Linked DNA regions of Homo sapiens: regions 1, 2 and 3 are each linked to region 4. The links are contacts of gene promoters, found by promoter capture Hi-C in blood cells and fetal thymus (Javierre and others, 2016). All regions are on one chromosome and are shown on one strand. The core of a region is centred on a gene start or on the middle of the fragment in contact, and the rest is flanking DNA. Distances in the headings are between cores, read along the strand shown.

Region 1 (2,744 bases), core at 205-2,704, 600 kb after region 4:
TCCTGGCCTTGGGCAATCCTCCCACCTCAGCCTCCCAAAGTGCTGGGAATACAGACATGAGCCACCATGCCCAGCCCCTTTGTGCATCTTTGTGCACTTCACCAGTTATCTCTGAGGACAAATTTCTAGAAATGAAATTGCTGTGTCCAAGGCATGCCTCCATGACACCCCGTCAACTTTTTGAGAGTCTTTTGAGACCCTCTTCAGTAAGCAAAAGAAAAACATAAATATTTTCTACCCACCTCTGGCCCCAGTCACCCAATTCCCCTTCCTGGAAGCAACTAGCATATTAATTTCTATATAATTCTTCTGGGCATAATCCATGCTTCTATATAAAAAGATAGTAATATATTTCTCCCAATCCATTTCACACAATGGTAGCCAGCTCTGAACACAATTCTGCCCTTCTGGCACATTCTACTTGTTTTGTTTCAGACACAGGGTATCTCTGTCACCCAGACTAGAGTGCAGTGACGTGATCTCGGCTCACCTCAGCCTCGACCTCCCAGGCTCAAGCGATCCTCCTACCTCAGCCTTCCAAGTACAAACTACAAACAGGAGCCACCACATCTGGTTAATGTTTTTTCGTGTAGAGAGGGGGTCTCCCTCTGTTGCCACCTCCTAAAATGCTAGGACTACAGGCGCGAGCCACCATGCCTGGCCCTTCTAGCACACTTTAATTTTTTTTTTCCTGGTATTTTCACAAAGATGGAATGGCATATTTTAAAAGTAAAGATACTAAGAATAAAACACAATATTGTAAGCTTTATAAATGGGCCCCAAAATATTTTCCCAAGATGTTTTTTAATTAGTCCCCAAAGATGGAAGAAAAGAGAAGTAACTAATGTTAACATGTTATATCCTCTATCTTTGATTGTCTGTGGACAAGTGACTGTCAATGGCAGAGACGCAGGACAGAGGGAGAGGCGTGACCCTGCCACCCATGTCCTGCTAAGGCCACGTCTGTAGCCAGCCCTGTTCTCCAAGAGGAGATGCCCCTTCACCTCCCAACCTTGGCCAGGGCTTATTTTTATCCACCCCAATCACCAGCTAGCCTGGCAGCCCTATAATTTGGGAGTCTGGCCACCCCTGTACTATATAATTCCCTGGCAGACCTTCAGACCTTAGGTTGGCCCCTTTGACTTGCATTTTGGTGATGCTCTGTGGCCAGAAGTCTCTTCGGCAAATTAGGGGTCAGAACTTGGTGCAGTGGAGTCAAAATGGGGGAGGGAGTCTGGGGCCTTTGGATTTTTTGCAATCGTCTCACTTCCACCATCAAATTGCATCTGGCCGTCCTGGAAATATGAGTGTACCACCACTTCTCAAAGGAGACCAGTTGGTGCTGAGAGTGGGGCTTGCTATAAAAAGGTGAGGCCGGATCAGGCGTGGTGGCCTGTAATCCTAGTACTTTGGGAGGCCAAGACAGGTGAATTACTGGAGGTCAAGAGTTCGAGACCAGCCTGACCAACATGGAGGAACCCTGTCTCTACTAAAAATATGAAAATTAGCCGGGCATGGTGGCACACACCTGTAATCCCAGGAACTCAGGAGGCTGAGGCAGGAGAGCCACTTGAACCAGGGAGATGGAGGTTGCAGTAAGCCAAGATCGTACCACTGCACTCCAGCCTGGGTGACAGAGCAAGACTCTGTCTCAAAAAAAAAAAAAAAAAACCTGAGGCTGGAGGAGCAGCATGGGGGGCCGGTGGCTCAGGTGCTGAGGCAGCCTTCAGTAAAGCCCATCCCTGTTTCTTGGGCACCATCACTTTAGAGAGGCAGAATTCCTCTGCAGCCTGTCTTAGATTGATCATGTGGCTACATGCTGTCATGCCTCAAGGAAGACACTAGGGGTCCTTTATATGCCTGTCAAGGTTGTTTCACTAAAACTCAGCTTCCATCCTACCTCTCCTCCAGAATCCACAAAATAAAGCCCTAGCTCCTTAGGAAGAAGGGAATCTAGTATGTGTTAAATTGAAATGGAGGTCAGGCCTGAAGAATCCCCGAGCAGATAAAACCAGTTCGGCATCATAAATGATCTAAGCCTTGCTTGATTTACAAACATAAGTAAAACTGAACTTAAGCTATTTCTTGTAAATGCTTATATTAAAGAAAAACAGAAGTTGAACTTAACCAATCAGAAGCAGCCAACAAGCTTATAAGGCTGAGGCAGACGGATCACCTGAGGTCAGGAGTTCAAGAACAACCTGGCTAACATGGTGAAACCCTGTCTCTACTAAAAATACAAAATTAGCCGGGTGTGATGGTGCATGCCTGTAATCCCAGCCCCTACCTGGGAGGCTGAGGTAGGAGAACTGCTTGAACCCAGGAGGCAGAATTTTCAGTGAGCCGAGATCATACCACTGCACTTCAGCCTGGGCAACAGAACTTGACTCTGTCTCAAAAAAAAAAAAAAAAAAAAGGAAAAAAAAGAAAGTGACATTCTTTACTTACCACAGGTCAGGAACCCTGCAAATGGACTGTGTAGACAAGATATGAGGCCAGTTTTCCCAAGGGGCTTTTATTGACTTTATAAGTCAAATTTGATTCCTTAAAGGAAAGCACACCATTCCAGTCAAAGCCTTGGTAAAATAATCAATTTATCAAATTGTGTCCTGTTGCAAAAGAAAACAGATTCTTATTGCACTTGTGTAAATTACTATTTTGCCATAAATTAAGAATACTCACAAATAGCTTCCAAATTTTGGAGAAATCAGGTATGTTCCAAATTTTGTTCACAGGGATATATT
Region 2 (3,058 bases), core at 434-2,933, 510 kb after region 4:
CGCAGTGGCTCACACCTGTAATCCCAGCACTTTGTGAGGCCGAGGCGGGCGGATCGCCTGAGGTCAGGAGTTCAAGACCACCCTGGCCAATGTGGTAAAACCCCATCTCTACAAAAATACAAAAATTAGCCGGGCATGATGGTGGGTGCCTGTGATCCCAGCTACTTGGGAGGCTGAGATGGGAGAATCACTTGAACCCGGAAGGCAGAGGTGCTGTCAGTCAAGATCGCGCCATTGCACTCCAGGCTGGGCGACAGAGTGAGACTCAGTCTCAAAAAAATAAATAAATAAATAAATAAAGGAATAGGAGCTTCTTGCTGGAGGAGAAGAGTCAGCAATTCTAAGTCACTTCCCCACAAAATGAGCTAACACGATGGCTTTCAACACCTTCCATATGCTGATGGCTCCCAAGTGTTTAACTTCTGTAATCATGCCCACCCTGCAGACATCTCAAACTTACCCCTCATTCTATCCTGCCCAACTAGCTCCATTTTAGCAAATAACTCCACCTTTATCTTCTCAGAAACCAGGGAGACATTTATAGCTCTTCCTCTCCTATACATCCCCCTCATGAGCAAGTCCAGTCCATTTAATCCTCCAAAAGAGAATCTGCATCTGCCATTTCCACTGTCCACATCACATCTCACTCACAAAGCAATGACCTCCTGAGGGTCCTGTCAGCTTCCGGACTTGCAGCTTCCCTCAATGGGACCTAGACCTAGACCAAACCCTTTGACAAATGCCCTTACAATCATGACACTCCAAGGCTGCACTTGCAATCCTTGAAGATGGCCTAGGAGGCTGTGTATGACACAACCCCTGCCTTCCTCACCAGAACCTTGGTCCTGTCTTGGGAAAGTCCTGCCCCACTGGCCCTCTTCAGTTACTTAAACACCTCTTCTTTGTCAAGGCCTTTCCAAATTCCACAAAGCTAGCTCCGTGTTCTTTGCTAAAAACCCAGTCTGTGACACAGGGTTTGTGTCTGTGTACAATACATACTTGATGAATGAAAGACCCCAATACATTCCCTGAATTATTCCTTGATTATAAGTTCACAGAAATAAATTCACAGAAGTGAGGTTTTGTGCCTGCTCAAAGGGGTCAGTTAAAGATTGGACATGATGTATCCAACTCACATCTCTGAAGGTTATGCCGGTTTACATTCCTTCAGCAGTCCGACCAGTCCCCAGCAGCCGCACCCTCGCTAACCCCAGGGCAAGTTACATACAGAGTGGCCTGCTGTGCCAAAGGAGCTATTCTGGATGTCAAATTGTAGCAAAATGCTGTTGAGGAATTCCAGAGCTAAGAACAGACTTTCCATTTTAATCAATCTACTCTGGGCCACTGCCTCTCCTGGGCCCCAGAAGCACCTTCAAGGAAAAGCCTATTCCCCATCACTTACCATTTCTCCTTTAATGATGTCCAGGATGACAGGGAGGTAGGAGTCCACTATCTCCTTGCATGAAGCAGACATGTTCGGTTTCGGAAGCCAGTCACAGGTCTTCTCCAAGTAAACAAGGATCTCCTCCTACGAGAGGACACCAGGGTCAGAATCACGATAGGCTTTCCTCCCTGGAAATAAATGGGCTGAAGGCAAGAGGCCCTCAATAGCTCCCAGAAAAACCAAGCCTGGAAAACAGCCAGCCCTCAGGGAAAAGGACTTGGCCATGTTACCTATGGCTCTATTAGGTCAATCAGGCAAAAGCAGACATGAGCATTCAAAATGAAAATCCCTGGACCTGCAGTCTCGCAGGCACAGGGAATTCTAAGCAGAGATGGCCAAAATGGACCTAGGTATTAGTGGCATGCAATACAACATCTCAATTAACTTTGGGCATTTAGTCCCGGGGTCAGCAAAGTAGGCCCTTCAGCTTATTTCTGTACAACCCAGAACTCAAGGAATGGTGTTTACATTCTTTTTACATTTTTAAAAAGAGACTGTGTGACAGGGACAGTATACGGCTCATATACCCTAAAATCTTTTCTCCTTGATCCTTTGTGGAAGACATTTGCCACCCTCAGGCCTACACCATTCCTCTTTAGACACCCGGAATCACAGCTCTCTTAGGAACCAGTGCACGTGCCCGTGGCTCAAGCACCATCCCCACTCACCGCCGCTCACCTCAGTGGCATTGTCCTTCAGCATATCACCAGCTGCGGTGACAACGTCTTTGCATATGTCGCAGGGAAGGGATTTCTAAGAGAAAGAATACGAGAAATTTGTATTTGCAGGACACAAATTCACACCCCACACAGCTGGAACTCCCCATGGCCTTTTCGCTATTCTCTCTAACCAGGGATATGATCATGACCGCGCTCCTGTCACATCCTGGTTCTCCACCCTGCATGAGCAGCGCTGGGGCACGGCAGGGAGGGAAGAGGTGTGACTCACCAGAACACACTGTGAGTTACAGGACACAGAACCTTTGCTCATACCCACACAGCACCCCATGTGGCACAGGTCAATTTCACATCAATGCTCACAACACCTCTGAGGAAACTGAGGCTCAGGTGAAATCAGAGTCACATCAGTATGGCAGAGAGGTGGGTGGGACAGAGAAACAAACGCCCCACCCACCTCTGAAGGCACACCCACACTGAACCGTTCACCTGCGCATCCCCTGCCTCCCAGGCATGTTAACAAGGCAAGACCACACCAAAGCCAATCTTCTGATTGGCACCAAGGCCCCCACCTGGACCAGAGGCCATGGAAATTCTAATTGGTTCCTGCGGCCCTTGGGGAAGAATGCCCAGGCTCCCTTCTTGATGTCAACTGACTTTCCATCCATGGAGAAGAAACATGTCTGGGTGAGACTGAGGAACACCTATGAACTTAGCTGCATTTAGAGAAACCAACTTGAACCTAGTCAGGCTAATACAGTCATCCTTTGGTATCTGAGGGGGTATCAATTCCAGGACCCCCATGGACACCCAAACCCCAGGATGCTCAAGTTCCACAGACAGCCCTCAACATTTGTGGAAACAGAGGGTCAAGGGTACTGTGCATGGAACCATATCAAGAGAGGGCCGGGCCGGGCGTGGTGGCTCACTTGGGAGG
Region 3 (2,897 bases), core at 254-2,753, 530 kb after region 4:
ATCCTCCCACCTCGGTGTCCCAATGTGCTGGGATTACAGGCATAAGCCACCGCACCCAGATGCAAGACATTTCAAAGCAAGTGAAATGAGGACCCCATGGCAAAATAACTGGACCAGAAAACCCTATATCGCCTTCAATACCTATGAGAATTAAGCTCCGATTTTTTTTAGCTTGCCCAAATTCCTATCTAAGGGGTGTAGGAATCATACCCTACAAACCATAAACTCTCATCAGATGGGTTTTATTTGACCCCATATATCGTGACTTACTTTCCAATCTGACTCTGGCATAACATTTTATAAGACAAGGAAAAAAAAATCAAAATATCTAACCCCAAAATATATTTCCTTGCCATACCTTGAAATTGCCCTGCAAAGTCTCTTGTGGGAAAAATCCACATTCTATAGAGAATCCCCTTTCCCCTATGTTTTCCTTCCTTCCTCTCCAGATCCAGGAGATAATCAACTAAGAGCCAGTCACCCTTTCATTTCCATAGAAATATTTTACAACGTGCTCGCTCTCTTAGTCGGCTACCTGAGAGCTTCCTCTGCACAATAAAACTTGGTCTCCACAATCCTTTATCTTAACTTGAATACTTTCTTTCTATTGATTCTAGGTTTTCAGATAAACTCAACCAATTATCAACTAGAAAATGTTTAAATTTACCTATGGCCTGGAAGCCCCCCGCCGCTTTGAGTTGTTTCGCCCTTCTGAACCAAACCAACGTATTTCTTAAATGTATTTGATTGATGTCTCGTGCCTCCCGAAAATATGTAAAACCCAGCTGTATCCCAACCACCTTAGGCACATGTTCTCAGGACCTCCTGAGGGCTGTGTCACGGGCCATGGTCACTCATATTTGCCTCAGAATAAATCTCAAAATATTTTTACAGAGTTTGACTCGTTTTGTCAACACCTAGAATCCAGAGTAAATACATATGCAAACGTCAATATAGATGATACACATGTGCTTCCTGCAGCTTCGCTACCCTTACAAACAGGCAACTGAAGCCAACGGCCAAAGTGTCCTGCGGGACGGGGCTCCAGCCCACCTCGATCACGTGCGCCCAGCACAGGCACAACACAGCTGCCCAAGGGGTCACCCTACAAGACTCACCCACCCCCACAGTGGGAAGCGCAGCCTGAGGGAAGGCCTCGGGGCCCCAGCCGCGCAGGAACCCACTCGAGCCCCGAAGGAGATGCTGCCCAGGGCCTGGGCCGTCCTCCCGGGGGCATTTTCGCAGCCCGCCCCCCGCAGCCCCCAGCCGCCCAGAGAAAGCCAGAGAAAGCCAGCGAACGCGCCTGCGCAGTGCGCGCGCCCCCTTGCCAACTAGGGCAGGGGGAGCAGAGGGGCCAGGCCCGGCACAGCCCATTCTGGGGCAGATGGACGCTGCGAGGCACCTCCTCCCCAGGATGAGGGTCCCAGGGCTTACCCGCGCCCAGGAGGCTGGCCAGGAGGAAGAGGGCGTACATAGCGCCGTCTGACTCCGCAGTCTGCAATGCGGAGCGTCAGCTGATCCCCCGCAGATATAAATCTGCCCTGCCCCAAAGCCGTCCAGAGCGCAGGCGCTAACCCCGCCCCATCCGGGCCTGCCCGAGCTCAACAGCGCCCTGACTCAGCGCCTCTGAGGGCGCCTGCGCGAAGGGGAGGCCAATAGGAGGGGGCAATGGGAGGGGCGAAAGGAAGGGCTATGGGGAGGAGTGAGGAAGAACTTGGAGAAAGGGAAGGGAAAGGTCATAAAAGAAAAGCCCTACTAATTGAATAGGTCAGAGATTATATATGTAAAATACCTTTTAAATCTCCACATTGTTGGCCGGCCGCGGTGGCTGACGCCTGTAATCCCAACACTTGGGAGGCCGAGGCGGGCGGAGGGTTCAAGACTAGCCTGGGCAACGTGGTGAAACCCCATCTCTACAAAAAAAAAAATACAAAAAAATTAGCCCATTGTAGTAGCGGGTTTCACATAGAATAGCTTGGGGTTTCACATAGAATAAGTAGTCGTGTAACAGGGTACAGGGCTCAGTCCTGGCCAGGGGCACGTGGGGGCAGGTGGTGGCACCTGGTCAAAGGCAAGTCTGGGCTGGGCATGCTGGCTCACTCCTGTAATCCTAACACTTTGGGAGGCCGAGGCGGGCGGATCATGAGGTCAGGAGTTCAAGACCAGCCTGGCCAATATGGTGAAACCCTGTCTCTACTAAAAATACAAAAATTAGTCAGGCGTGGTGGCGCTCGCCTGTGGTTCCAGCTATTTCAGGAGGCAGAGGCAGGAAAATTGCTTAAACCCGGGAGGTGGAGGTTGCCGTGAGTCAAGATCGCACTACTGCACTGCAGCCTGGACCACAGAGCGAGAGAGATTCCCATCACCAAAAAAAAAAAAACAAAAAACTTTTAAGCCTCACATTGTGGTACCGTTAAAGATGTAATACCATTCCTCACCCATCATAAGAGATCATAAGAGTCACAACCAACACTCCTGTAACGAGACAGCTTAAGAGAAAAGCATAACAAATTTATGTAATCAACGTTTTATGTGACATGGAAGCCTTCAGAAATTAAGACCCAAAGACCCTCTGCCTGTGGCTGCCCCTGCCAGGACCTGAACAGAGAATGATGATGACCCTCTCCAGAAGGATAAGAACCTGCCAACCGCAAGGCAGGGAAAGGAGGGGAATCTTAGCCCCTTAGGGCAGGCACTTAGAGGTCATTTACCTGTAGGGACATTGAGCCTAGGAGAGGGCAAGACGTTTATCCAAGGTCACACAACAGGTAGAGATAGAACCTGGCCCGAAGCCAGGTTTCCTGACCCAGGAAGGGCAAACCTACAGTTCCTCCAACTTCCTCCAATCTGCAATCCGCTCTGGAGAACAACCCCAGGGACTAAGGCCTCAGAACCTT
Region 4 (2,898 bases), core at 204-2,703:
TACCATTATCCCTCAGCTTGTAAGCCTGGAGCTAAGCCCCTTCCTCTCCTGGGCCGGGGGGCTTTCTGACAATTTAGGGTGCTAGTCTCCAAACTCGCCTGCTGGTGGAGCTTGTTAAATAGATCCATTCTGGATCCCCATTCTGCACCCCCTGAGTGATGGGTTGTATTAATCCAGGTATTTATTGAACACAAATTATGTGCCCACGATGAGGGAAGAGCAAACAAAGCAGATACAGCACCACCCTCAGGGATTGGGGAGTGGCAGCAACCCTCCTGGGGAGAGGTCCCCAGAATCTGGATGTGTACTCGAGACTTTTATGATCAGGCCAGTGTTTGGGGAATGGTGGTTATAAAATGAGAGGCTGGGGCAGGGAGTGGGGATGTTCTGAGAACCTGTCCACACACTGACAGCCTCAATGGGTTCTGTGGCACCCCTGAGCCCTGGGATGGCAACTGCAAGAATTTACTATCCATGGTCACAGATCTTCAGGCCCTGTGAAGCATCCAGATCCCCGCTCTGAATAGGCCAACTGGGCCAGGACCGGGAGTCAGGAAGGTTTCCGCCTTTTTTTTTTTTTTTTTTTTTTTGAGATGGAGTCTTGCTCTGTCGCCCAGGCTCCAGGCTGGAGTGCAGTGGCACCATCTCGGTTCACTGAAATCTCCGCCTCCCGGGTTCAAGCGATTCTCCTGCCTCAGCCTCCCACATAGCTGGGATCACTGGCACGCACCACCATGCCCGGCTACTTTTGTATTTTCAGTAGAGACGAGGTTTCGCCATGTTGGCCAGGCTGGTCTCAAACTCCCGACCTCAGGTGATCCGCCTGCTTCGGCCTCCCAAAGTGCTGGGATTACAGGCGTGAGCCACCGCGCCCGGCCCCTGCTTTCTTAAAGAACACGCGGCAGCTGTGTGTTACACGCTATGGCTGAGGTCAAGTGTGAGGGCTGGAATTGCTGACTGCCATGTTCTGGGTCTACTGAAAATAGCTGCCTGGCCTGGGAGGCCCAGTTCAGTCCGGGTGTGGGTCCCGCTTCACCTCCAGAGCAGCGGCAGCCGGTAAGGGTAGAAGCGGCCTTTGGAGAGGGGTCTCTGCAGCGGCCTGGGGACAAGATGAGGGCTCCTTTGAGTCCTGGGGTGCAGGTTATAGTAGCTAAAGGGGAGGTCTGAGACAGTGGGGTCTGGCTCCAAGGTAAAGAAGGAGCAGCAACCAAAAGGCCTGATGCGCAGCGCACCCATCGCAAGCATGGGCAGTGCGTTTAAGACTGGGTGACTCACTTTTTCTCCTATAAAATGGGCGCACGCAGGCCCCAGCTCAGCGCCAGAAGGGGGAGCCCCGGCGCGCCGGCAGAAGACAAAGGAAAAAAGCGTGTTTGCAAACGGGGAAGCGGCGGCGTGCTGCCGCGAGGGGCGGGGCGGGGCCGGGGGAGGAGCCCGCCTGCCGCCTGCCAAGCCCAGTGGTCCTGGCCGTGCGCCGGAGGCAGCGGCGGCGTGGCGCAGCGGCGACAGTAAGTGCGGGCCGGCTCGGGCTCTTCCGGCTACGGTCCCGGCCGCCCCCAGACTCGCGCTCAGCGACCTCCCTCCCGGGCCCTGGGGGCGGCTGCGGGCTGCCAGGGGAGCCGCAGGACCCTACCCCATCCGTGGTCCCTTCCCCACCGTCCCTCCTCTCTCTCCTTGCTCTCTGCCACCCCTCTTTCTGGGTCTCTATCTTCTCTTCCCCAAATCCTCTCCCCTCCTCCTCCCTGAGACTGGACCTCACCGCCTGTATGGTGGGGGCCTGGTATGGACCCGTCGGCCCGAAGTATCCAGACGGTGGCTGATTCTCTCGGTCCCAGCTGCGGGGCCTGAGGCTGGGGCTGTTTACACCGCAAAGCCGGTTCTGCCGCGGCCAGTAGGCGGTGCCCTGCGCTTCCCAGTGCCTTCCCACAGGTTAGCCCTACCAGCTCCCCACCCCGGTTCACAGCCCAGGAGATCGAGGCACAGAGGGGCGAGCCACCTAGCCAGAGTCAGGAACCTCCTTGGAACCAGCACCCAGGCTTCCCAGCCCAGATGAGGTTTTGCCGCGGCCCCAGCAGTGCCTGCCTCCTTGTGTGGGGCTGTCTGTCTGTGCATGGCCGGGCTCCCGCAGGTGACCCAGGAGCACGTTCCAGGCCACAGCCAGCTTGTTTTGGGGAAGGTTGGGCACTTCCTTGCCTGCCTTTCTCTTTATTTTTTAATCCAGAAGCCAGCAGCTAGCTTTTATAAAGACTAATAAGACTTTGCTCACTCCAGTGCCCTGGCCTGTGACCCTGGTTAGAGAAAATTCCTGGCTCCTTCTTCAGAAGCTCAGTCAAGCCTTGACAAATAGACGCTAGGAACTGAGAAGGGGGCCCTAGCCAGGTGTGGTCCTGAGTGACAGGGCTGGTGGACCTTCTAGCCGCCCCCACAGGTAGCTGGAGCCTCTGGAAAGAACCACTTGCCGGTTCTCTCTTGTTCTATGTGGGTGGGTCATGATTATTTTTTACATTTTAAACACTAATTTTTAAAATGTAACAAGTGAGCTTGTTACATTTGTACCATTTTGTGCCAGACAAAATAGCATAGACTGGGTGGCTTAAACAAAATTTGTTTCTCATGGATCTGGAGGCTGGGAAGGGCAAGATCAAGGTGCTGGTTGATTTGGTTTCTGATGAGGGCTCTCTTCCTGGCTTGCAGACAGCCTCCTTCTTGCTGTGCCTTCACATGGCTTTTCCTCTATGAGTGGGTGCATGTGGAAAAAGCGATTTTCCACACAGTGAGCTTCCAGACAGTGAGCTTGTTAATGCTGGCCTCCATGCGAATCCAGGCTGGGGAGGGGCTCTGCTAACCAGGGGAGTTTAAAATAGACTTGCTGGCTGGATGCATTGCACTTGGGCATCCAGT

What was found. Contacts are between HindIII fragments. The CHiCAGO score rates a contact against its expected background, and 5 or more counts as called.
Region 1: a fragment that was not itself captured here is called in contact with the fragment with the promoter of SLC29A3 in region 4 in 2 of 17 cell types (naive B cells and total B cells); the score reaches 6.6 in naive B cells.
Region 2: a fragment that was not itself captured here is called in contact with the fragment with the promoter of SLC29A3 in region 4 in 5 of 17 cell types (total CD4 T cells, total B cells, total CD8 T cells and 2 more); the score reaches 7.1 in total CD4 T cells.
Region 3: the fragment with the promoter of PSAP here is called in contact with the fragment with the promoter of SLC29A3 in region 4 in 4 of 17 cell types (total CD8 T cells, naive CD4 T cells, naive B cells and 1 more); the score reaches 6.1 in total CD8 T cells.

The regions. Positions count from the first base shown.
Region 1 is chr10:71,914,291-71,917,034 of GRCh38, forward strand. No RefSeq gene overlaps it. Among named protein-coding and RNA genes, the nearest start is that of LINC03139, 38 kb to the left of the region's middle. The HindIII fragment of the contact is 1,385 bases long and covers 763-2,147 here.
Region 2 is chr10:71,829,724-71,832,781 of GRCh38, forward strand. It overlaps PSAP (prosaposin), which reads right to left. Exons shown (of 14, transcript NM_002778.4): 3 at 2,123-2,197; 4 at 1,403-1,528. Among named protein-coding and RNA genes, the nearest start is that of PSAP, 20 kb to the right of the region's middle. The HindIII fragment of the contact is 4,261 bases long and covers 1-3,058 here.
Region 3 is chr10:71,849,748-71,852,644 of GRCh38, forward strand. It overlaps PSAP (prosaposin), which reads right to left and starts at 1,504. Exons shown (of 14, transcript NM_002778.4): 1 at 1,435-1,504. The coding sequence starts at 1,474. RefSeq lists enhancers at 1-262, 654-1,184, 1,185-1,715. The HindIII fragment of the contact is 9,568 bases long and covers 1-2,897 here.
Region 4 is chr10:71,317,806-71,320,703 of GRCh38, forward strand. It overlaps SLC29A3 (solute carrier family 29 member 3), which reads left to right and starts at 1,454. Exons shown (of 6, transcript NM_018344.6): 1 at 1,454-1,505. The coding sequence starts at 1,505. LOC124902445 (a long non-coding RNA gene) reads right to left here and starts at 1,858. Exons shown (of 2, transcript XR_007062183.1): 1 at 1,757-1,858; 2 at 164-1,099. RefSeq lists a silencer at 1,251-1,700. The HindIII fragment of the contact is 7,819 bases long and covers 1-2,898 here.